6 separate regions of the Homo sapiens genome follow, and all the other regions are linked to region 2. The links are contacts of gene promoters, found by promoter capture Hi-C in blood cells and fetal thymus (Javierre and others, 2016). All regions are on one chromosome and are shown on one strand. Each heading gives the region's core, a stretch centred on a gene start or on the middle of the fragment in contact. The rest is flanking DNA. Distances are from core to core; before and after follow the strand shown. Region 1 has its middle 18 kb from the start of THBS4-AS1. Region 2 holds the start of SPZ1 (spermatogenic leucine zipper 1). Region 3 holds the start of ANKRD34B (ankyrin repeat domain 34B). Region 4 holds the start of FAM151B (family with sequence similarity 151 member B). Region 5 has its middle 39 kb from the start of THBS4-AS1. Region 6 overlaps SERINC5 (serine incorporator 5).

Region 1 (4,168 bases), core at 1,307-3,806, 220 kb before region 2:
CAGCACAGAGAAGTAAATAATTAGCTGAAGATCACAGAGCTAGCTAGCAAGTGGCAGAATGCAATTTCAAACAAAAAGTGGCCTTTGAGAGCTTTCCTCTGTTGCCTTTTTTCTACTTGGGGCAGAAATCTTCCATCCTATAAGTGAGCCTTTTTAGGTCCAGATCCTTGTGAAATTGTGATGAGTGCCAAGGACCCTTTCCATGCTACTGTGCATATGGTCACAAAACTCTGCATATTATTTCAGGGAGTCAATCTACCCCAGTCCTTGGACCCCAGGTTAAGAACCACAGCTAACACAAAATAACGTTGCTCTTGTATCTATTTGGAAATTCTCTTATGAACTTTTTTATTTCTAACAGACTTTCTCCAAGCTTAATTTTCCCTATTTTTTTATTTTTTTCAGACAGAGTCTTCCTCTGTTGCCCAGGCTGGCATGCAATGGTACAATCTTGGCTCACTGCAACCTCTGCCTTCTGGGTTCAAGTGATTTTCCTGCCTTAGCCTCCCAAGTAGCTGGGATTACAGATATGCACCACCACGTCCAGCTAATTTTTGTATTTTTAGTAGAGATGGGGTTTCACCGTGTTGTCCAGGCTGGTCTCGAACTCCTGACCTCAAGAGATCCACCCATCTCAGCCTTCCAAAGTGCTGGGATTACAGGCATGAACCGTCGCGCCCGGCCAATTTTCCCAGTTCTAGATGAAAGAATGTTCAACCACACCAATACTCAAAGATAGACAAATTCAAATAATAAGGTTAAGGTGTTATTTTGTACCTTTATAACAACAAACAACTATAAAGAAAATACTCAAAAATCAAGTGCTGGCCAGGTGCAGTGGCAGACACCTATCATCCCAGCACTTTGCAAGGCCAAGGCAGGTGGATCTCTGAGCTCAGGAGTTCAGGACCAGCCTGGGCAACAAGATGAAACCCCATTTCTACAAAAAATTAGCCAGGCACGGTAGTGCGCCTGTAGTCGCAGCTACTCAGGAGACTGAGGTGGGAGGATGCCTTAAGCCTGGAAGGCCAAAGCTGCAGTGAGCTATGATCACACCACTGCACTCCAGCCCAGGCAACAGAGCAAGACCCTGTCTCCAAAAAAAGAGTGCTGGGAGGGTTGTACTCCTGTTGCTGCTGCTATGGTACCTGTATACACTACCATTAGAAATTTGGCAACACACAGGAAAGACTGATGAAAACACCCATAAGCTTTTGACCCGGTAATTCTACTCCTCAAATTTATTCCAAAAAAATAATTTAGATGGAAATAAAAGTCACATGTAGAAAGATATTTATAGCAAACTTTTCTCTAAGAGCCAGAAAAAAAAAAAAACAATGTCCAAAAAAACAACTGGGAAATTATAAGCAAATATGGTCATTAGCTTAATGGAACATATAAAATAATGAAAAGCATTAAAATAACATTTAGGAAAAAATGTGGAAGGTGGAAATCAACATGATGATGATTGTCAATTGTGGGGTGATAGGGTGGGGATGCCCAGGGAACTTTCAATTCGCTTTTTATTGCCTCACTTTAAAAAGTGAGAGACCAAATAATCAGAACAAAAGCAGCTCAGAGGAAAGAGAGAGAAACTATAAAGGATCAGAGGATCCCTCAAACCAAAATGAAACAAAACACTATAAATAATATCCTCTATGAAATATGAAAAGATATGCATCCACGAAAGAGAAACAGAAGAGGATGGGGTGTAATCAGAAAACATGAAAGAAGGCCTGGCATGGTGGCTCACACTTGTAATCTCAGCACTTTGGGAGGCTGAGTGGGGCGGATCCCGTGAGGTCAGGAGTTCGAGATCAGCCTGGCCAACATGGTGAAATCCCATCTCTACAAAAAATACAAAAATTAGCTGGGTGTGGTGGTGCACACCTGTAATCCCAGCTACTGGGAGGCTGAGGCAGGAGAATTCCTTGAACCCGGGAGGCAGAGGTTGCAGTGAGCTGAGATCGTGCCACTGAACTCCAGCCTGGGAAACAGAGCAAGACTCCCATCTCAAAAAAAAAAAAAAAAAAAAAAGATAGAGTTATTGGAGATGGAGTTATAACAACTGAAGTAGTAAATTCAACAGAAACTCTGGAAGATAAAGTAGGCTAACTATCCAGAAAATTGAACAAAAATAAATAGAGAGATAGAAAATGGGAGAAAAGATGACCAATCCAGAAGACCCAATATCTACCTAATAGGAGTCCGCTAAGAGACAACAGAGACAATCTCCAGGACAGAGAGTGTAACTGGCCAAGCCAAAGGCATGTGCCCAACCCATGGCTAGGTAGGAAAGGGAGGATCTGGCCCATTTGGGTCTAGAAGGAAAGGGCACTGTCTCCCCCCACAACCCAGGAGTATGGTCCCCCAAAAGGAAAAGTAATAGATGCTACTAGAAAATGAGGGTTAGATGATATACAGCCAAGAGCTACCACTGTCCACTGCACAGGAACCTCTGTTGACTCCTAGTAACCACACCTTCTTCTCTAAATACTCATAGAGCACTTTCAATAGGATTTTTGCATCCTGTCAAATGCAAAACCTCCCTCTCTAGGCCTGTTGTGCATTATCATAGCTGAGATGTGTACATCCTACATGCCAATTGTTTCTCATGAGTTATCTCATTAAAGCCTTACAACAAAGCAAACAAGAAAATCATCTTAATAACCCCAATTATAAATCAGGACACTACTGCCCAGAGCGGTTAAGAAGCATGCCCAGCTTCACCCAGCTAATAAAGAGATTCAAGCCAGGATTTGGACCTAGTACCCTGACCATGGAGCTCGCACTCTTATGCCACAGGACTTTATGTACCTCTCCCTGGAGGCTTCTCGGTGCCTCCAGTGACCCCGATGCCTCACTGCCTTCTGGACCCCAAAGAGGATCTAAAGTAGGTCGTCAAACAGCCGTGAGAGCCTCCATTGAGCCACACACCCCGAGTTTTCTGCATGCAGCCCAGCACCTAGCTCAGAGAGTCCCTGGCATGCTTGGTCACCCTAGGAGGTCCATTAGCCCTCCCAAGTCACCAGGGTGCTGGGAGCCGCCACTAGATCTCAGCCCTCCTTCACGTCACACACCTCACTCAGGGGCTGTCCACAGGCTTGCTCTGGCTGTAGCATGGGAACCCCTGCTCCTTCTTATCTGGTGCAAGGAGCCCAGGGGATGCCTTTAAGGAAGGTCAGCCCTGTCGGTGAGACATGTTGTGCAAAAGGCAGGTTGACTGGAGAAAAGTCATACACGTTTATTTCACATTTATACACAGGATCCTTCAGAATGAAAACCCAAAGATAACGCGGAAATTGGCCATACTGATGCTTAAGATTAACGAAGTATGAACAGCTATGTACAAATGCGACTGGACAAAAAAAGGGTATGATCTAATGCTGATAGACTGAGCTGGGAGATTCAGTGAGGCCTGTGTAGATTCTTGGCCTCTCTGCACAGCATCCCTTTCTTCTGTGTGTGGGGCAGGACCCTCTCGGGAATGGGGGAATTATGACCTACAGTCAAACAAGGTAAGTCGGATCATTTCTTTATGGCCAGTTTTTACACAGAAAGGCAGAGGGAAAATAAGAGTAATATTTTTAGGATTTATGGCTGGCTTTGGGGAAAAGAGGTTCTGGTTTCTATGGGGAAGAGGGATTCTAGTTTCTAAGGCTAGACTAGGGGAGAACGCGCCTGAGAGAAAGGAGGGCAGGTATGCAGAGAAAAACTTTTAACTTCTGAGGCTTTCATTTTAGAGTACTCTTTTCTGAGTCCCAACAGTGGGAAGCCAGAGGAAGCAGAACTGTACTTGTGAGAGCCCCCAGACAGCTGGCTCTTCCCCCACGCAGCAGCAGTCAGGCCCCAGAGCTCCTCTTGCACGACAGCACAAGGGCAAAGCCTGTCTGGGCTGGTGGAAGCTTCCGTGGGTCTGGCTGTATTGGGGGGAAGACCTGTCTGGGAGCCTCTTCAACTATTTATCTGTTCTGCCTTCCTCCCCCTTGCTCCTGTCCTTTGAACGCTAACCTGGACACAGAAGCTCTCAGCATTTAGGAGGCCTTAATTGCAGCTCCATTTAATGTAAGATCTCTTGAAGTGGGTCCCAATCTTAGGCCACAAGTTCAGGTGTACAGAAAACAAACCATTTCTCTTTGTCTTTTTTTTTTTTTGAGATGGAGTCTTG
Region 2 (3,906 bases), core at 1,073-3,572:
CAGCCTCCCGAGTAGCTGGGATTACAGGTGCATGCCACATGCCCGGCTAATTTTTTTTTTTTTAAGTAGAGACGGGGCTTCACCCTGTTGGCCAGGCTGGTCTCGAATTCTTGATCTCAGGTGATCCGCCCACCTCAGCCTCCCAAAGTGTTAGGATTACAGATGTGAGCCACCATGCCTGGCTCTTTTCAGATTAAAGAAAAAAATTATCTTCGTATCTTGACCATGCTACCTTCAAACCAGTTTTCATAAAAAAAAAAATCAAGACAAGAGCAATATTAGATTTATGTCTGACAGCATTAAAAAGCTGCAAGCACAAGAGGATGGAGAATACATTTTCTTTTTAATATCTAGGGAACATACATGAACACTGATAATCTATTAGGCCAGAAAGAAAATATCAATTTCAAAAGGTAGAAACATTACAGACATTTTCTGAATATAGTATGATAAAGCTAGAAATTAATTATCAAAAATTCCCCTGTGCTGGAGATTAAGAAATTGTCTTAAATGATGCTTGAGTCAAAGGGGGAAATAAGAACCAATGCTGAACTTCTAAGATGGAATTAAAGCATAAGGACAGTTGCTAGCATCTATGCTGTCATTGTGTGAATTAGAAAAGGAGTTCCTTTTTCAAGTAAAAGCAGAGACCAACCCTGCTGTATCTGTGAGTAGTCAGTGACGATGGCCTGGAGCCCAGCTGGCTGAAAGATGAGCATGAGGCTCTGGGGAATTAGAGCCAAAATGAGTTGGTAACTGGAGAAGAAAGAAAACATATAAATTTCTCTTCTCTAGGGGAAAAAAAACCTGAGTATGAGTTTTCCCTTAAGACTGGAAGCAAATTTCTATTAAAGTGCTTGCTAGCAAGATTTTGAAGGCCAGGAAAAAGTCATACACAAGAAATGTTTCTTTGATTGAGTTCTATATTCACAAGACCTGACTCCTAAGAACAAAAAGACAAGAAAGCAGCTTATTAAAATGCAAGAAGTTTAATAAACTTGTTACTTTCTATAACCCACTAGAGAATTTACCTGTTTCAAATGCTTTTTATTTTTTAATTTTTAATTTCTTTTTTTGAGGCAGTGTCTTGTTCTGTCACCCAGGCTGGAGTGCACTGGCACGATCTCAGCTCACTGCAACCTCCTCCTCCTGGGTTCAAGCAAGTCTCATGCCTCAGCCTTCTGAGTAGCTGGGATTACAGGTGTGTGCTGCCATGCCCAGCTAATTTTTGCATTTTTAGTAGAGATGGGGTTTTGTCATGTTGCCCAGGCTGATCCTGAACTCCTGGCCTCAAGTGATCTGCCCGCCTTAGCCTCCCAAAGTGCTGGGATTACAGGCATGAGCCACTGCACCTGGCCAATTTTTTAATTTTTTGTGATAGATCTTGCTGTGTTGCCCAAACTGGAGTGCACTAAGTAGCACAGTCATGGCTCACTGCAGCCTCAACCTCCCAGGCTCAAGTGATCCTCTCGCCTCAGCCTCCCAAGTAGCTGGGACCACAGGCACACACTACCATGCCCTTCTAATCAAACACTTTAGAAATATAACTATGTCATTTTAACAAGTTACTGTGTAGAGTGTGGAAATCTTAGGGGATCAATAAAAGAGCCAAAAAAAAAATCCCCAAATAAGTTACTGTGAAAAGTAATAGTCAAAGTTTTCTATCACCTGATGTAAATGATTTGTGAGTAAGCTTGCCAAGCCTGTCTTAAAGGATGCCTATATTCAAAGCCAAGAAAAGTCCCAGTTTGTAATTGTGTTGCTATTATAACCATTCAGATAGTCCCTTCTTGGAGCAGTAGAATATTTTTGAATGGAGGGACTCCTGACATTACTTTCCTAAAATCACAAAAGGCTGTCACTCTCAGGGTTTTGTTTTGTGTGGATAACTTTCTCTTACAGTCACATCTCTCCTAGAATGGGAGCAATAGAGCCTCTAGGTGCTATGAAAGGATGGGGACCTCACCAGAGAGGACTGGTCTCAGCAATGTCCTTAAGTGGTCAAAACATGCTGCGGTTGAGGTCAGGATTGTGAGGGGATAGAGGTGACGTAGAGAAGTAACTGAGTGCATTTAGACTGAGATGAATAGCAACCTAGAAATTAAGGAGGGGAAGAGCTATTGTAGAGCTCTTTCTGGCATGAGGAGTAGGGATAGCTCAAGGTTGGTTTTGATGCAGGAGTCACTGGGCAGGAATTTAAGAGGCTTCCATTGTGACACAAAGGAGACAGACACTATGGATAGGCCACAATGGTGCAGTGACAAAATAAAGACCTGGTTGCTAGGGCCAGAGAATAAACACCGGGTGCCTAGAGGAGAAGAGATGGAGCCCCAGCCTTGGTCCCCTTTCCCACCCTTCCTCCCCACAAGGCTGTCTGAGATGCCACCTTCCACCTAAACATCATCTCCCAAATTTTAATCCTTAACTTTGGTCTCTGACTTCTGCTTGATTCCACAGTCTCCACCCACATTTGCACAAAGGACCATCACCTGTCCTTCCTGGAATCTCTAAAGTTTTCTGCTTTCCTTCTGTCCTGATGGCCAGCTCTGCTAAGTCAGCTGAGATGCCCACCATCTCCAAAACCGTTAACCCTACTCCTGATCCTCATCAAGAATATCTGGACCCTAGGATTACCATTGCCTTATTCGAAATTGGATCACATTCCCCTTCCTCCTGGGGCTCTCTCCCTTTCCTAAAGAATAGCAGCCATCAAGTTACAGAACAACAGACTGCACAGAAGTTTAACAATCTCTTAAAAGAAATTAAAGATATTCTTAAAAATATGGCAGGTTTTGAAGAGAAGATCACAGAAGCAAAAGAACTTTTTGAGGAAACCAATATTACTGAGGATGTGTCAGCCCACAAAGAAAATATCAGAGGACTTGACAAAATCAATGAAATGTTATCAACAAACCTGCCTGTTAGTTTAGCCCCAGAGAAAGAAGACAATGAAAAGAAACAGGAGATGATATTGGAAACCAATATTACTGAGGATGTGTCAGCCCACAAAGAAAATATCAGAGGACTTGACAAAATCAATGAAATGTTATCAACAAACCTGCCTGTTAGTTTAGCCCCAGAGAAAGAAGACAATGAAAAGAAACAGCAGATGATAATGGAAAACCAGAACTCTGAGAACACCGCACAAGTTTTTGCAAGAGATTTGGTAAATCGTTTAGAAGAAAAAAAAGTCCTTAACGAAACTCAACAAAGTCAGGAAAAAGCAAAAAACAGACTTAATGTTCAAGAAGAAACTATGAAAATTAGGAACAACATGGAGCAGTTACTACAGGAAGCAGAACACTGGAGTAAACAACATACTGAGCTCAGTAAACTGATAAAATCCTATCAGAAATCTCAGAAAGACATAAGTGAAACTCTTGGAAATAATGGAGTCGGTTTCCAAACCCAGCCAAATAATGAAGTGTCGGCTAAGCATGAGCTGGAGGAACAGGTGAAGAAACTGAGCCATGACACCTATTCATTGCAGTTGATGGCAGCTTTGCTAGAGAATGAATGCCAAATCTTACAGCAGAGAGTAGAGATTCTCAAGGAACTCCATCATCAGAAACAGGGAACTCTGCAAGAGAAGCCAATTCAGATAAACTATAAACAGGACAAGAAAAATCAGAAGCCATCAGAAGCAAAGAAAGTAGAAATGTATAAGCAGAACAAGCAAGCAATGAAGGGTACATTTTGGAAAAAAGACAGATCCTGTAGAAGCCTGGATGTTTGTCTTAATAAGAAAGCTTGCAATACCCAGTTCAATATTCATGTTGCAAGAAAAGCTCTTAGGGGAAAAATGAGGTCAGCTAGCAGCCTAAGATAGAAAATACCAAAAGCAGATGAAAAGGTGAATCCTTAAAAAACTACATCTGTTACCTCCAACTTGTCAGTCATGATCAA
Region 3 (4,167 bases), core at 1-2,500, 250 kb after region 2:
CACGGTCCCCGCCGACCCCTGGAACCAGGCGCGTTTCCTCAGTTTTTCCTGAGAGCAGGAGGAAGCGAGCTCAAGGCGCTGTCGGAGAAGGGCAAAGGAAGGTGACTGGGGCGACAGCTCCAGGGCACCGATGGGGGCGGGGTGCGCGTTTCGTCGCCTCATCTCTGAGCCAGGGCAGGCAGCTGGCGGGCTAAGGCGATCACCATCCATGAAAACGGGTTCTGCCCACAGCCGCTGCGGAGCGGTCCCTGCGCCGCTCGCCCGCCGGCCGGACGCGGCCCTCCCTTGGGAAATGGTGCGTCTGAGGGGCGCAGCCACTGCCCCCATCCCGGAGCAGGCGCACCTCTGCACCCGGCTCTCTGCTAAGGGGGTCCGGTATCCTGGTGCCAAGGCTGTGCGCACCTGAGAAGGGCGGGAACCGGCTGCCCGCCCCTGTGTGGCTCCTGGAAGCAGGAGCTCCTGGAAGCTGCAAAGGGCTCCGCAGTCCCCAGCCCGCCCCCAGCGCCCAGCCGGCACCTCCTGCTGCCCAGCTGCCGAGGCACCTGCGGAGACGCGCCCAAGTCAGCCCCTCCGGAGACGCGCCCAAGTCAGCCCCTCCGACCCGCGCGCTCTTGCGGCCCAGCGCGCGCCGCTCCCGCTGCTGCGCCGACCTTCGCCCATCAGGCCCCCCGCCCCGCATCCTCCTCGACACCCCGCGGCCGGGCAGCCCTCGCCGGTTCCCGCCGCTCGGCGAGGCTGAGAAGGAGGCGGAACCCGCATCCCCGCGGAGTCCAAGCCCCAGCGGCCGCAAAACTGGAACCGAGAACCAGTGGGAAAGGCAGGAGGCGCGAGGGTGAGCTCGCGTGGAGCGCGCCCCGGGGTGGCGGGGCAGAGTCTCTCGGGAGGCCCCTGCAGCCCGGCGGCCCTCGGCTGGCCCTGGGTCTCTCATCCTGCTCGGGGCACTGCAATGTCAGGGTGAGCGGGAGGTGCGGGCTTCAGGGGCTTGCGCGCACCGGGCAGGGAGCACTGAGGCCGTGCGGGCCGCTGGGTTCCACGCTGCGCCCTCGATGTCCTCCTCCCGGCAGCCGCCACTGCAAGCCAAAGTTTCCCAAGTGCAGCCGGCAGGGACGGCGCCTCACACTGACCTGGGACGCGCTGTCGAGTTGGCGGCGGCGCTTTCAAACCTCTCTCCGGCACTGCCCGACCCTCTGTGCGGCCCTAGGGCGCCGTCTGAGCTGAGCTGTGGTCTTCGGCTCCTCGGCGCCTCGAATCGCAGATCTCGGTAGATGCCGCCCAGTCCCCGCCCTGCTTGCGGAAAGAGGCGGGCGACTGCCGCGAAGCGCTGGAGCTGGGACCCGGAGCGCACACCTCGCCAGACGCCCGGGCAGCGAGGCGCTTCCGCTGGGGGTGACGCGTCGGCTCCAGGCTCTGCGCAGGTGAGGGCGGCAAGGCTCCTCTGGACCCAGGGGGGCCAGCAGCTGCTGGAAGCTCCGCCTTCTGTCCCCGTAAGTCCCACCCCCGTCCCCCGCTTCGGCCACCGCGCTTCGGCCACGGCGACTTGGCCAACAACAGCGGCAGCAGGGTCTCCCCATTGAGGGAAGCACGCACCCCTACGTCACGGGCTTTGGCTCCTCCAGTCCGTATCCCTCCCCTCAGCTCACATCCACCCGCTGGTTCATGGGTCCATCTGTCCCCACCGGTCCTTCCACCCCTCCGCATCCCTGTACCCACTTCAGGTAAAGCCAGAGCCACACTTCAGGTTGGGGTGTTAGTGGGAACAACCGTTCTTATTTACGTCTTTAGGAATTTATAAGGTTATTATGCTATTATTAAAACATGAATAAACATATTAACAAAATTTCGAAAAATACATTTCATATGTTAAACTCTACTGAGAGATGAAAAGGAAATGAAGCAGAAGCAACTTTTTCTGTCGTTTTTAGTTTTTGGTTTTTTTGAGACGGAGTCTCATTCTGTCACCCAGGCTGGAGTGCAGTGGTGTGATCTCGGCTCACTGCAACCTCTGCCTCCTGGGTTCAACCGATTCTCATGAGCCAGCCTCTGGAGTAGCAGGGATGACAGGTGTGCACCATCACGCCTGGCCAATTTTTGTATTTTTAGTAGAGATGGGGTTTCACCATGTTGCCCAGGCTGGTCTCGAACTCCTGACCTCAAGTGATCCACCCACCTCGGCCTCCCAAAGTGCCGGGATTACAGGTGTGAGCCACAACGCCCGGCCAGAAGCAAAGTTTTTAACTCTTCATTTATCTTGGAGGGTCTGGTGGAGAAAGGCCATCACTATTTTTGTTATTCAGATAATGTCAATCAAAACTTGTTTATAGTTTTGAGTTCTCGGGAAAAGTAGATTTATCTCTGGTCAGGCTTCCTTTATTAAAGAAAAGATCTCTCCGAAATGAGGACCTAAAGGGTCCTCATTTAGTAAACATATGCAAAGCAATTGCACAGGGTGCTTTACCCCAAAGTTAGGCTCTAGGGAGTTTGAATCCTATATCTGGGCTGCCCTTTGCCTACAGCTGTTTGTTTGGAGGTTACCAGGAAGACTGAGCCAATTTGCATGAAGGCACGGGGCTCCTCCCCCTTACCACCTCCGACTGTTCTCTTAAAAAAATTTCATCAATGTGCAGTGTACCTATTAAAAGGCAAATATTTTGGCTGAGTGCTGTGGCTCATGCCTGTAATCCCAGCACTTTGGGAGGCCAAGGAGGGTGAATCACTTCCAGGTCAGGAGTTCAAGACCAGCCTGGCCAACGTGATGAAACCCCATCTCTACAAAAATACAAAAATTAGCCAGGTGTTGTGGTTTATGCCTGTAATCCCAGCTACTGGGGAGGCTTGGGCAGGAGAATCACTTGAACCCAGGAGGCAGCAACTGCAGTGAGCCGAGATAGTGCCACTGCACTCCAGCCTGGGCCACAGGGCCAGACTTCATCTCAAAAAAAAAGACACACATTTCACAAGTCCGATGATTTTGCACAAAATGAGCATCATCCAGATCAAGAAGCAGAACATTACCAGTACCCTCACAACACTCCCTCTTCAGATTTCTCATTGGAGGGAGTGGTGGCTTCAAACAGCATAGAGTAGTTTTGTTTCTTTTTGTACTTTATAGTGATTGAATCACTCTGTTGACTGGCCTCTTTCACTAATAGTATGATTAAGAGATGCATACTGTGTGTGGCTGTAGTCTGTTTATTCTTTTTGCTGTATAGTATTCCGTTTTGTGATTGTGCCTCAATTGCTTATTCATTTTACTACTGATAGACATTTGGGTAATTCTCAGGTTTGGGACATTACAAATAATGCTGCTATGAACATTAAAATAGATGTCTTTTGGTGACCATATATACTTATTTCTGTTGGGTACATACCTAGGAGTGGAATTGTGAGTCATGATGTAGGCATATGTTCAGCTTCTGGAGATGCCACCAAACAGCTTTTCAAAGCAGATGATCCAATTTTCACTTCTACTTTATTAGTTTTCTATTGCTGCTTGTTACCACAAACAAAATCACCACGAACTTATTGTGGCTTAAAGAACACAGATTTATCCTCTTACAGTTCGGGAGGTCAGAAGTCCAAGTTGAATTTTATGTGGTTAAAACCAGAGTCTCAGCAAGATTGCATTACTTTTGGGGGTTCCAGGGGACAATCTGTTTCCTTGCCCTTTCTAGCTTTTAGAGGCCATCTGCATTCTTTGGCTGGTGGCCCCTTCCTCCATCTTCAATATCTGTCTCTCCCTCTCTCTCCCTCCCTGCCCTCCTCTCCCCACTGCCACGCTTCTGTTGTTACATGTCTCTCTCTCCCTCTGCTTCCTTCTCTCCCTCTGACTCTCCTGCCTCACTCTGGAGGACCTTTGTGATGACACTGGACCCACTTGGATGATCTTCCATTTCAAAATCCTTCATTTAATCACAGCTGCAAAATTAATTTGGCCTGTAGGGTAACATATTCATAGATTCTAGAGATTAGGACATTAAACTCTATGGCGGTTCATTACTCAACCCACCACACCTATCAGCAGGATATTGGAACATGTTGCATGAATGGAGGATGGACTGAATAAACAGAGGATAATGAATTTACAATTTACATTGTATCCCAGATACAATTTACCTGTAGGATTTTTACTGTTGACCTGGGTGCTGTGCCAGGACTGGTGGGCAGGAG
Region 4 (3,713 bases), core at 493-2,992, 170 kb after region 2:
GAGACTATATAAAGAATTCTCACAATTGAAATGAGCACAGGATTTGAGAAGACATTTCTCCAAAGGAAATATATAAATGACCGATAGCACCTGAAAATATGCTCAATATTATTAGTAGGGAACTACAAATCAAGATAATGAGGTAGTACTTCATATCTACTAGGATGGCTATAATTTAAAAAACATAACAACAAGTACTGACTGGTAAGGATGTGGGGAAATTGGAATCTTCATACATTGCTGGTGGGAATGAAAGATGGTACAGCTGATTTGCAAAACTGGCAGTTCCTCACACAGTTAAACAGTTACTATATGAACAAGTAGTTCCACTCCTAGGTATGTACACAGATATGCACACAGGAATGTATTCATATACGTCCACACAAAACTTGTCCATGAATGTTCACAGCAGCAGCATTCATAAAAGACAAAATGTAGAAACAACCCGAATGTCCTTCAGCTGTTGAATGGACACACATAAAATGTGGTATTTACAAACTGGAATTTATTCCAGCATAAGAAGGAAGGAAGTACTGATACATGCTAAAACATGGGTGAATTTTGAAAACATGCTAAGTGAAAGAAGCCAGTTACAAAGATCATACATACAGTCTGTGATTCTATTTACATGAAATTCCAGAATAGGCAAATTCATGAGACAGAAAGTAGATGAGTTGTTGCCTGGGGGTAGGAAGGGGGTAAATGGAGAGTGATTGCTTTGGAGTGATGAAAAATATTTTATCTGAAAGGCTGGGCAAGAATAACTCCCCTTTGTATTACGTGTCAGGTGATGTTAGTTATCCTAACTCTACCACTGGCAGATTGAGTTTTTTGGTCACAGAAGCTGAAAATGGCAGAGCTTTGTTGTTAATTCTGATCACTAGTTTGGCTTCAAAAAGTAATGAGTTAAGGAGGGCTAGAAAGACAGTGGATGGGAGGACCCAGTTGCTGAGAGCGTTTTCTGAGTGAACACTGGTAGAGAGACAGAAGGGGAGAGAAAACTTCAAGTTATCAGCTCGGTAACTTTGTACAAAAACTTATTTATTTATTTATTTATTTATTTGACAGTCTAGCTCTATCGCACAGACCGGAGCGCAGTGGAGCGATCTCGGCTCTCTGCAACCTCCACCTCTCCGGTTCAAGCCATTCTTGTGCCTCAGCCTCCCGAGTAGCTGGGATTACAGGCGCGCGCCACCACGCCAGGATAATTTTTTAAATTTTCAGTAAGGACGGGTTTTAACCATGTTGGCCAGGATGGTCTCGAATTCCTGACCTCAAGTGATCCGCCCACCTCGACCTCCCAAAGTGCTGGGAGTACAGGCCTGAGCCACCGTGCCCGGCCAGAAACACTGATTTTTATCAGTAATGATTCCACACCCTTTTAGGATATTACTAACATTTAAAAGAAAATATACCCAACTGTTGAAATTCGTGCTCCACTCCAGCAACTGCTTTCAATCGGAGTTCCATCCTCCGCCGCAGTATGCCCTAACGCAGCGTTATCTTCAGAGCTACCACCAGCTTCCGAAACCTTTCGGAGGAGCGCTTCGCCACCACCTGCACGGCGAAGCGGCGCGTAAACGAACCTCGAACGCCAGCCTTTGCGCCTGCGTGCCGCGGCTCCGTTTGGTTCCGCTTCGCTGGCGCCCGCCGGGCTCTTCCCCCGCCGAGGCCTGTGGTTTGTGGAGTCGAATTTCCCTGCCACCAGTGCCCGGTTAGCAGGGGCGCCAGCCTGGGCGCCTGCGCGGACGGCGGGCGTCGTCACCATGGCAGCATCCGCTGGAGGCCCAGGTAAGCGCCGAGCGCGCGGCCTCTGCCTGGAGGTGGGGCGCTTTGAGAGGCTCCGCCGGCCGTACCCTCCCTTTGCGGGCTCCCGCGGTCTTCCTTGCTAGGGACCTGGGAGCGCGCCGCGCAGAACCGGGCGGCTGGGCTTGGAGCCCGCTCTGCACTCGGGGCGCGCCCGCGATCGCCTGGCAAGGACCTTGGTTTGCCGGGTGGGCTCTAAGGGACAGGCGTTAGGGGAGGTCGAGAATGGCAGGGTCAGTGTCTTTTGAGGTCTGGGTTGGAAAGAAAGGAATGTGACGTTTCCCTAATCCTTAATTTCAGCCGACCGTATGGGGGCGGTCTGGGTCAGTAGGTTCCTCTTTGAAAGCTGGGGGAGGTTTGGGAATGCGGACTGGGCCGGGCCCGGCATAGTCCCGCTGCTGAGCGCGCTGCCTGGAAAGCTGGCAGAGTGTGCGGCTCGCTTGATTCCCCTTGGAATCAGGTGCTTCAACTCGCGGGACAGCAGTTCCGCTCTTGAAGGTTACAGTATCTTTTCTGTAAACTTAAGTAGTGGCATGAGACAACGTCAGTGACGCGTTCTTTCTTCAGTTTAGATTTTTTTCCCTAATTGTAAAAATAATACACGCTTTCACCATTCTGACTAGCAGGCTGTATAAATACAGGTTCTCTTCTGAATCGATGCACAGTTTACAGAATCTTGGAATAAAATGTGTGTGTAAGCGAAAAATGTCCAGGTCCTGATAAATGCCATTATAGAACATTTATAAAGTATATTAGTATAGGGAAATAGGAAAAAAAAATCCCCCAAATGCTGATACCCACAGGCACCACTACTAACTTTTTGGTATTTTCTAACAACCCTGACTCTTAAAAATAGAGTTAAGGTCATGGTAAACATAATTTTTAAAATCCTGCATCTTATACTATCCCATGTCACCAAGGTTTTTATAAACATAATTTTGAATGACTGAAGTGTTTTATACAATTATATTGTATACAATTATATTGTAATTAACCAGTCTCCTAATGTTGAACGTTAATCAGTCGTTTCCTGTTTTGTTTTGTTTTGTTAGAATTCATTCTGTAATGAACATTTTTGCATTGTTCTTCCTCAGTTATGTTTTTGGTTTGTTTTTATCCTGGACACGATTCTTGTAACTGAAATTACTGGATCAAAGGATGTGAACTTTTTTCTCTCTCTCTTTTTTAAGATCTGTGCTAAACCTCCGTAGAACATTTTTTCAGACCAGAGTTTTCCTTTTTTAACCCTTGTGCTCTTCTCAGTATAAATCCTTTTAATGCCTAGTTTTCCTAAGAATCCAAACAAATCTGGGACAAAGCTCACACTCAAGACTTACACCATTCTCACTCACAGGCTGTATAAATCCAGATTCTCTTCTGAATCGATGCAAGGTTTACAAAATCTTGGAATAAAATGTGTGCACAAGTGAAAAATGTCCAATTGCTGACAAATGCCATTTTTTAAAAAACAAATTTTTGGGCCGGGCGCGGTGACTCACGCCCGTAATCCCAGCACTTTGGGAGGCCGAGGTGGGCGGATCACGAGGTCAGGAGATCAAGACCATCCTGGCTAACACAGTGAAACCTCGTCTCTACTAAAAATCCAAAATAATTAGCCGGGCGTGGTGGCGGCGCCTGTAGTCTCAACTACTAAGGAGGCTGAGGCAGCAGAATGGCGTGAACCCGGGAGGCGGAGCTTGCGGTGAGCCAAGATTGCGCCACTGCACTCCAGCCTGAGCAACAGAGAGAAACTGTCTCAAAACAAAAACAAAAACAAAAATTTCTTCTCATTACCGAGTTATTGATAAAACTAATTCTTAACCAGATTCTTCCGTTATATGTCATTTTTCCCCCTTACACACACACACACACACACACACACACACACATTCTCAACATAAAAAAGT
Region 5 (4,179 bases), core at 1,680-4,179, 200 kb before region 2:
ATTCACCAATCCATTTCTTCTTCTTGTTCATACACAACTAGACTATATTTCCCAGCACCCTTTGCAGCCAGGCACGGCCACACTAGTTCTCACCAAGGGGATATGGTTCTAAGTTATAGTACCTATTCTTGGCAAAGGCTTAAGGAACAGATATGCCTCCTCCAGGTTTTCTTTTGTCTTACATCACTTGGATGCAGGTGACAGGTTCTAGGGAACTGGGGATCTACAACATGGAAGGAGCCTGTATGCCTGAGTTACTAGGTAGGGGAAAGCTATCCATCAACTAGAATGCCTGCCTTGGACTCTTCTGCAAACGAGAAATAAGCTCATATACCATATTAGGTTATAATATAGTTGCTTTAAAGAAATACCCATGGCCAGGCGTGGGGGCTTACACCTCCCAGCACTTTGGGAGGCTGAGGCAGGAGGATCACTTGAGGCCAGGAGTTTGAGACCAGCCTGGCCAACATGGTGAAACCCCATCTCTACTGAAAATACAAAAAATTAGCCAGGTGTGGGGGCAGGCGCCTGTAATCCCAGCTATTCGGGTGGCTGAGGCACAAGAATCGCTTGAACCCAGGAGGCAGAGGTTGCGTGAGCCGAGTTTCAGGCTGCACTCCAGCCTGGGGGACAGAGTGAGACTCTGTCTCAAAAAAAGAAAAGAAATACCTGCATTGCTATAAAGAAATACCTGAGACTTTAATTTATAAAGAAAGGAGTTTTGGAGGCTTTTTCTTTTTTTTGAGACAGAATTTCGCTCTTGTTGTCCAGGCTGGAGTGCAATGGCGCGATCTTGACTCACTGCAACCTCCGCCTCCCAGGTTCCAGTGATTCTCCTGCCTCAGCCTCCTGAGTAGCTGGGACTATAGGCATGTGCCACCACACCTGGCTAATTTTATATTTTTAGTAGAGATGGGGTTTCTCCATGTTGGTCAGGCTGGTCCCGAACTCCCAACCTCAGGTGATCCGCCCACTTTGGCCTCCCAAAGTACTGGGATTACAGGCATGAGCCAACGCACCCAGCCAAGAAAGGAGTTTGTTTGTTTGTCTGTTTTTCCAAGAAAGGAGTTTTAACTGGCTCATGATTCTACAGGCTGCACAAGCAAGGTGCTGGCATCTGCTCAGTTTCTGGGGTGGCCTAAGGGAGCTTTTACTTAAAGCCAGAGCAAGCATCTCACATGGCAGAGTAGAATCAAGAGTGAGAGTTGGTGTGGTGGTGAGGAATCTCAGGATGACCTCCCTGAGATTGCTGTCCCCTAGTTATTCACAAAAACTCACTGACTATCACAAGGTCAGCATCAAGGCGTGAGGCATCCACCCCCATGACCCAAACGCCAGGCCCCACCTCCAACACTGAGGATTACATCTCGACATGAGATTTGGAGGGGCCATCTAAACTATATCATACACTTTTGGGATCTATTTTACAACTAACCTATAGTCAGTGTGTTAATCCATTTTGCATTGCTATTAAGAAATACCTGAGACTGGGTAATTTATTTTAAAAAGAGGTTTATTTTGCCTTATGGTTCTGCAGGCTGTACAACCATGGCACCAGCATCTGCTTCTGGTGAGGACTCAAGAAACTACCAATCATGGCAGAAGCAGGTGTGTCACATGGCGACAGAGAGAGAAAGAGAGGGGGAGGAGATGCCAGGCTCTTTTAAACAACTAGCTCTCATGTGAACTTAATAGAGTGAGAACCCACTCATTACCTCGGGGAGGGCACAAAACCATTCATGAGGGATCTGCCCCCACGACCCAGACACCTCCCACCAGGTCCCATCTTCAACCCTGGGAATCACATTTCAACCTGAGATTTGGAGGGGACACACATCCAAACCATATCAGTCAGGAAATGTTCACCCCCTTTCTCCACCTCCAAATAACAATTACACAGTACCCAGCATCTGTGCAAACATTTTATTCTATTCACAATTCTCATATGGTGTAAATTGCAATCTCTCTGTAGTAGGACAAATTCTAGGGATGACCTCTGTATTAGTCAGGCTTCTCTAGAGGGACAGAACTAATAGTATATATATATATATAATATGAGTTTATTAAATATTAGCTCACACGATCACAACGTCCCACAATAGGCCATCTGCAGGCCGATCTGATGTCCAATGTTTGAGGGCAGGAAGCATCCAGCACGGGAGAAAGATGTAGAGTGGGAGGCTAGACCCATCTTTCTTTTCACATTTTTCTGCCTGCTTATATTCTAGCAGTGCTGGCAGCTGATTAGACTGTGCCCACCCAGATTAAGAGTGGGTCTGCCTTTCCCAGCCCACTGACTCAAATGTTAATCCCTTTTGGCAATACCCTCACAGACACACCCAAGATCAATCCTTTCAATCCAATCAAGTTGACACTCAGTATTAACCATCATAACCTCCCTGAGAAACACAAATCTAGGTACTCCTGTGAAGGGATTCTGCAAATGTAATTAAAGTTTCAAGTCAGTCAACCTTAAAATACAGAGATGATCTGGGTGATCCTGATCTAATCACAAGAGCCCTTTACACAACAGAAGGGGAATTCGGAGAGATTTGAAGTATGAGGAAGACTCAAGTGCCATTGCTGCTTGAAGATGGCAGCACCACGTGAGAAGGAATACCTCAAGGAACTGAAAGTGGCCCTTGCCTAACAGTCAGCAAGGAAAGAGGAACCTCAGACCTACAGCTGTAAGGAACTGGATTCAGCCAATAATTGGAATGAACTTGGAAGCAGATTTTTCTCAGTGCCTCCAGGTAAAAGCTCTGCAACCAATACCTTGATTTCCAGCCCTGTGCTATTCCTGAGCATAGAAATCAGGCAAGCCTGCCTGGACTTCTGACTACAGAACTGTCCACTAATAAATTTATGTTGTTAAATTTGTGGTGATTTGTCACAGCAGCAATAAAAAAACTAATACATTCTCTTAATCTGTTTTGTCATCAATTTTTCTTTGAGACGGAGTCTCACTCTCTTTCCCAGCCTGGAGTGCAGTGGTGTGATCATAGCCCATTGTAACCTCAAAATCGTGGGCTCAAGCAGTTCTCCCACCTCAATCTCTCGAGTAGCTAGGACTACAGGCACATGCCACCATACTTGGCTGATTTTTTTAAAAAAATTATTTTTTATGTAGAGATGGGGTCTCACTATGTTGCCCAGGCTGGTCTCAAACTCCTGGCTTGAAGAGATCCTTCTATCTCAGCTGGGAGGATCCCAGGATCCCAAAGCGCTGGGATTACAGGCGTGAGCCTCCATGCCTAGCTTCCTCACTTATTTTTTATTAATAAAAAGTGACATGGGGAGATGGTGGAAGTTAGAGTGATGATATCTGAGTATGCTCTTAGCTTTACATTTGCTCAGTTCCTTGTGCTGAGTTGTCTGTTAGGGAGCTTCCTGCCCTTATAGTGAGAATGTGACATAGTCTGGGCATCAGCTGCAGCTCTTTGAACAGAGATGATCCAGCTCCCCATCTCACCAGCCCCCAAATCCAAAACTTAAAAGCGGAGCTGCTGTCAAGGAAAACAAAGTTAAGCAAAATGACTTCAAAGCCCAATGTGCTCACCTTCACTCTCCCAGTGGGTCCTTGCACCTGAGAACGTGCAGGGTCCATCAGTATTGACCTCCCCTTTCCACCAGCCCTGGAAGTTATGGAAGGGGAAGGTAGCTTATTCTGATATCGTGTCCTGTAATAATGCTTCCTGGCCTGGCACATATATCCTTGTTTCTGTGCCTCTTGTTCTAAAACATCCTCCCTTTCCGAAAGCTGAAACTGTTCCTGCACACATTATGCACTTAACCAGGTAAATTTCAGAAGATTTTAAAAAGTTTCCCAGTGAAGGAAGGAGAGAGAGGTATTGTCCTGAGATACTGAATATGCGGATGGCCAGACTAGATATCAAAATAGAACCCTGACCCACAATCTGTGGCAACTAGCCTGGGAAGCCAACATATTATCTGCAGTAACCAATCCAGGAAGCAAAGCAATAACCCCCTTAGCAATGGACCCCAAATGGCCAGGACTCGATTAATAAACTGACAGCTCCCATAATTTTTGCCCCTACCTCCAACTTTGGACTAACCAGAGAAAGCCAAATGGGCACCCCCAACCAATCACATAGCATGCCGCACTTCTAGCTGGCCCACTTGCAGCTTCCCCGTGCCAACAGTCTCAGGGCACGCCCA
Region 6 (3,773 bases), core at 409-2,908, 180 kb before region 2:
TCTGCAGAGGAAAGGGCCAATCACGGCCAGCCAAGGAATACAAGGCCTTGTCAGCTGGACCTTGACTGCGCGTAAGGTCAGTTTCTCAAATCACACCAGCTGGCAGCCAGACCCAGCCGAGAGGACAAAGCAAGGGCTCTGCTAGACCTCAGCAGGAGGAAAACAATGAAACTAGTCACAATACTGCCCAGGCTCTTTACCTGCTTCCCCTCAGGGTGTTTCCTAAAGACAACCCCCAAGGCCCTAGGCCACTGCAACACAGCTACTGTGTGTGACACGCAGCCCCACTCCCTGAGCCCATTCCTGGCCCACGGAACTCCTGTCCCCTAACTGATTCCTCAGGTTAGAACACGGCTTTTCATTTTGCGACTCCAGATGAATCTTTTAACTGCTGAGTACAGAGCTCCTGCCCTAAAAAAGGAAATTTAATGGAATTTACAAAACAAGGCTCTCTAAACCACACACACAGATGGAGTGCCTTTTGAAACTGAATCTCAAACACTCTAAGTAGGGAAAGTTCTAAAGGAATTCATCCCCTGTAATTTGTTTCCCCATGGGTTTTCTTGGGAGAAGGGCAAAGGAATGAATAGAAAGAATTTCACTAATTTCACCCACCAGCATTTTGGCACACAGAAGCCCAGCTTAGGTGGCACTCAATTCTGCCCAACTCATACAGTAGGGCACAGAAAAAAATGACTAGGCTGAGCCTTTTATTCTTAGATCCTCACTTACAGAGAGCTCGAGAAGATTCTTTCCACCCCGAATGAAATTCTAACAGGAGTTTCCACCAAGTAAACCTTTTCCCTGCCTGAATACATCAACACTGAAAATAGGCATCATCTTGGGTAGCTGCCGAAAGTCACGTTTCTGTATTACTTTGCAAGTACGTATTTTGGAAATTCCTGTGCAGCGTGATCTCGGCTCACTGCAACCTCCGCCTCCCGGGTTCAAGTGATTCTCATGCCTCAGCCTTCGAGTAGCTGGCATTACAGGCACACGCTACCATGCCCGGCTAATTTTTCTATTTTTAATAGAGACAGGGTTTCACCATGTTAGCCAGGCTGGTCTTGCAACTCCTGACCTCAAGTGATCCGCCTGCCTCTGCGCACCTCTTTTTAAGTATATTCGGCCACTTCCACACATTGCCTAACAAGCTTCTTCTGGTCAGTGTGTCTGAGATCCTCACCTCAGAAATTCTCACATTAGCAAACCTACTCCAAGGATGCCAGCATGAACCTGAACGGTATGGTCACGTTACAGATCCAGAACACAAAACGACTTCCGCTTTTACAGTTTCAAAGGCCTCAAGGTGGAGAAAAAACTGAGGGGCTGACCTCAACAACTGAAAGAGCAGTGCATGCAGCAGGCTTCAACACGAAGCAGCTTTTCAGTTAAGGTCCTAAAAGTATTATCATTATCAACAGCACAAACAAGTAAGAATGATAGCCCTCCATTGCTTAGGCAGAGAAAACATGAATCTTGTTCTATAATCATGTGAATAACACCATAAATAAGCGCCGTACTTATTGCAGTAACTCGGATCAGGTAGTGATAATAAGGTGGGGAACCACCTGGGGGGTGATCAGACAAATTGTGCTTTTTCACATTATTACAAAGATGTGGGACCCAGAAAAGATGAGACCTCGGGGAAGGGTGCAGGCAGAGAGTGAAGTCTGTGATTCCCAGCATCACAACCTCAAAGGGAAACGTTTAGGGGCCGTGAAGAGGCAGCACTGAGGGTGCAGTTGAAAAGCAGGTGCCTCCTCTTGGACCCTATAAATACCAGGGGCCCTGCAGGCTGAGTCCTGTCCTCAAAGCCCCCTGGGGACAAGGCTCTAAGAGGCGGAAGTGAGTGAGAGGGGTCTGGATTCTGTTAGGCGCTGGGGACTCAAGATTTTGGCATGTTTTTCTATTCCGAGGATGAGAATGACTGGCCCCACAAGATATTTTTATCCCTGTGAAAAGATGCTGTGCCCCAAATTCTGTTTTGGCAAAAACATGCAGAAGGAAGTCAACATAACTGGTATCCAGTTCCTAGGGGTAAGATATTTCAACCATGATCAGTTTGGTTGAAAATTTCAATTCCTTTGGGACAAACTGGTAGTTTCTTTTTGAATTTCAAAAGTAAAAAGCTAATCAGGAGATTTTTTTTTTTCTCTCTCAAAGCTTTTTCAGACCCACTCAGGCACAGGGCGCCAGTCCCTGCCCCGGGGACACTGTTCAAAAGATGGCACTTTCCAGGCTGTAGGCCCACAAAGCCCAGGGGACCGCCGATATCATCACACAGAGAACTCCCGGGTGGGGCAGCAGAGGGGAGCGACCAGCGTACACAGGTACAACAGCACGCATATCCAGCAGGAGGCCATCTTGACCCAGAAGATGGACCAGCTCCCGCTGAAGAAGCTCTCGATGTTGGCACTTTCGTAGCTGTGGAAACAAGACACCTAGCCGCGGTCAAAGCAGGAATATATTGAGATACAATTCACTAATTCACATCCATTTATAATGTATAATTCAACGGCTTTCAATGTATTCATACACAGACTTGTGCTACCATCAACACTACCCATTTCCAAACATTCTCATCACCCCCAAAAGAAATCATGCACCCCTTAGGTGCTCTCCCCTTCCCCATGGCCCCCTCAGCCCACCCCCCGCATTCACCAATCTACTTTCTGCCTCTATGAATTTGCCTATTCTGGACAGTTGATATAAAAGGAATCACATGGTCTCTTGTGTGTGGCTTTTTTGCCTGGCATACAATTTCCAAGGCTCAGCCACGCGGCAGCATGTGTCAGTCCTTCATTCCTTTTTACTGCTAAATAGTATCTTATTGTATGGATAGAGCACATTTTGTTTAGGCAGTCACCAGCTGATGGTCATTTGGGATGTTTCCCCTTTTTGATTATCACCAATGATGCTTGTATGAACACCGCTGTGTAAGTTTTGTGGACCTAGTTTTCTTTTTGTCTTAGGTATACGCTCAGGAGTAGTGGAAGAGCTGGATTACATTGTAACTCAATGTTTAATTGTTTAAGGAGATGCCAAACTCTTTTCCAAAGCAGATTTCACATTCAAACCAGCAATGTAAGAGGGTTCCAATTTCTCCACTTCCTCGACATTTGTTATTATCTGCCTTTTTAATTATAGCCTTCTCCATCTTTTCTTAAGCTTTCCAAGCCAAAAATTCCCAGGAGTTCCCAAAGCATCACTGGGAAGCATTAAAGCTCCCTTCTCCTCTCCTCCTTCAGGAAGAATCTCTCCAATCACTGTGCTTGAAACCACCACTCCCACCACCCCTACCCCAATTCCCTCTCCTAATTTTATTTTTCTCCCCAATACTCATCACCATCTAACACACCATATTTGACTTGCGTCATAGTCTGTCTCTCCTGCTGGACTATAAATCCTGCCTCATAGAACCGTGTGGCACATAGGAGCCACTTGCACATCTGTTGAATGAATGATAAAAGGAAGCACAATGAGCCTACATGTCTAAGCTTAACTTAGTGGTCAAAAAAATTATGATACAACCAAAGCTGTGGACCTGTAGAAAAAGTATGAACCTCTGTGTAGTGCCAGGGAAGGCCAGGTCAATCATGTACTGCCAAGTTAAAAAAAAAAAAGCCTCCAGGGGAAAACATGTATAATGACATTTATGTTAAAAAAAAAATTAGCTGGACATGGTGGATCATGCCTATAATCTCAGCACTTTGGGAGGCTGAGGCAGGTGGATCACAAGGTCAGGAGTTCGAGACCAGCCTAGCCAATAT

What was found. The method cuts DNA at HindIII sites, captures the fragments that hold promoters and counts their contacts. A CHiCAGO score of 5 or more calls a contact.
Region 1: a contact is called between a fragment that was not itself captured here and the fragment with the promoter of SPZ1 in region 2, in 11 of 17 cell types (neutrophils, M0 macrophages, M1 macrophages and 8 more). The highest score is 14.3, in neutrophils.
Region 3: the fragment with the promoter of ANKRD34B here is called in contact with the fragment with the promoter of SPZ1 in region 2 in 5 of 17 cell types (erythroblasts, monocytes, naive B cells and 2 more); the score reaches 7.4 in erythroblasts.
Region 4: a contact is called between the fragment with the promoter of FAM151B here and the fragment with the promoter of SPZ1 in region 2, in 4 of 17 cell types (neutrophils, monocytes, M2 macrophages and 1 more). The highest score is 8.9, in neutrophils.
Region 5: a fragment that was not itself captured here is called in contact with the fragment with the promoter of SPZ1 in region 2 in 1 of 17 cell types (neutrophils); the score reaches 6.9 in neutrophils.
Region 6: a contact is called between a fragment that was not itself captured here and the fragment with the promoter of SPZ1 in region 2, in 1 of 17 cell types (neutrophils). The highest score is 5.2, in neutrophils.

The regions. Positions count from the first base shown.
Region 1 is chr5:80,099,700-80,103,867 of GRCh38, forward strand. No RefSeq gene overlaps it. Among named protein-coding and RNA genes, the nearest start is that of THBS4-AS1, 18 kb to the left of the region's middle. RefSeq lists silencers at 2,425-2,554, 2,565-2,634. The HindIII fragment of the contact is 2,694 bases long and covers 1,210-3,903 here.
Region 2 is chr5:80,317,680-80,321,585 of GRCh38, forward strand. It overlaps SPZ1 (spermatogenic leucine zipper 1), which reads left to right and starts at 2,323. Exons shown (of 1, transcript NM_032567.4): 1 at 2,323-3,906. The coding sequence starts at 2,537. The coding sequence ends at 3,829. The HindIII fragment of the contact is 2,056 bases long and covers 1,692-3,747 here.
Region 3 is chr5:80,569,030-80,573,196 of GRCh38, forward strand. ANKRD34B (ankyrin repeat domain 34B) reads right to left here and starts at 1,251. Exons shown (of 5, transcript NM_001004441.3): 1 at 1,125-1,251; 2 at 1-78. The HindIII fragment of the contact is 11,841 bases long and covers 1-4,167 here.
Region 4 is chr5:80,486,358-80,490,070 of GRCh38, forward strand. It overlaps FAM151B (family with sequence similarity 151 member B), which reads left to right and starts at 1,743. Exons shown (of 6, transcript NM_205548.3): 1 at 1,743-1,791. The coding sequence starts at 1,767. FAM151B-DT (FAM151B divergent transcript) reads right to left here and starts at 1,589. Exons shown (of 3, transcript NR_172938.1): 1 at 1,421-1,589. RefSeq lists enhancers at 1,347-1,848, 1,849-2,348 and a silencer at 2,013-2,307. The HindIII fragment of the contact is 15,498 bases long and covers 1-3,713 here.
Region 5 is chr5:80,120,162-80,124,340 of GRCh38, forward strand. It overlaps a transcript of SERINC5 not described here. Among named protein-coding and RNA genes, the nearest start is that of THBS4-AS1, 39 kb to the left of the region's middle. The HindIII fragment of the contact is 6,557 bases long and covers 1-4,179 here.
Region 6 is chr5:80,141,384-80,145,156 of GRCh38, forward strand. It overlaps SERINC5 (serine incorporator 5), which reads right to left. Exons shown (of 12, transcript NM_001174072.3): 12 at 1-2,427. The coding sequence ends at 2,280. Among named protein-coding and RNA genes, the nearest start is that of THBS4-AS1, 60 kb to the left of the region's middle. The HindIII fragment of the contact is 1,012 bases long and covers 1,153-2,164 here.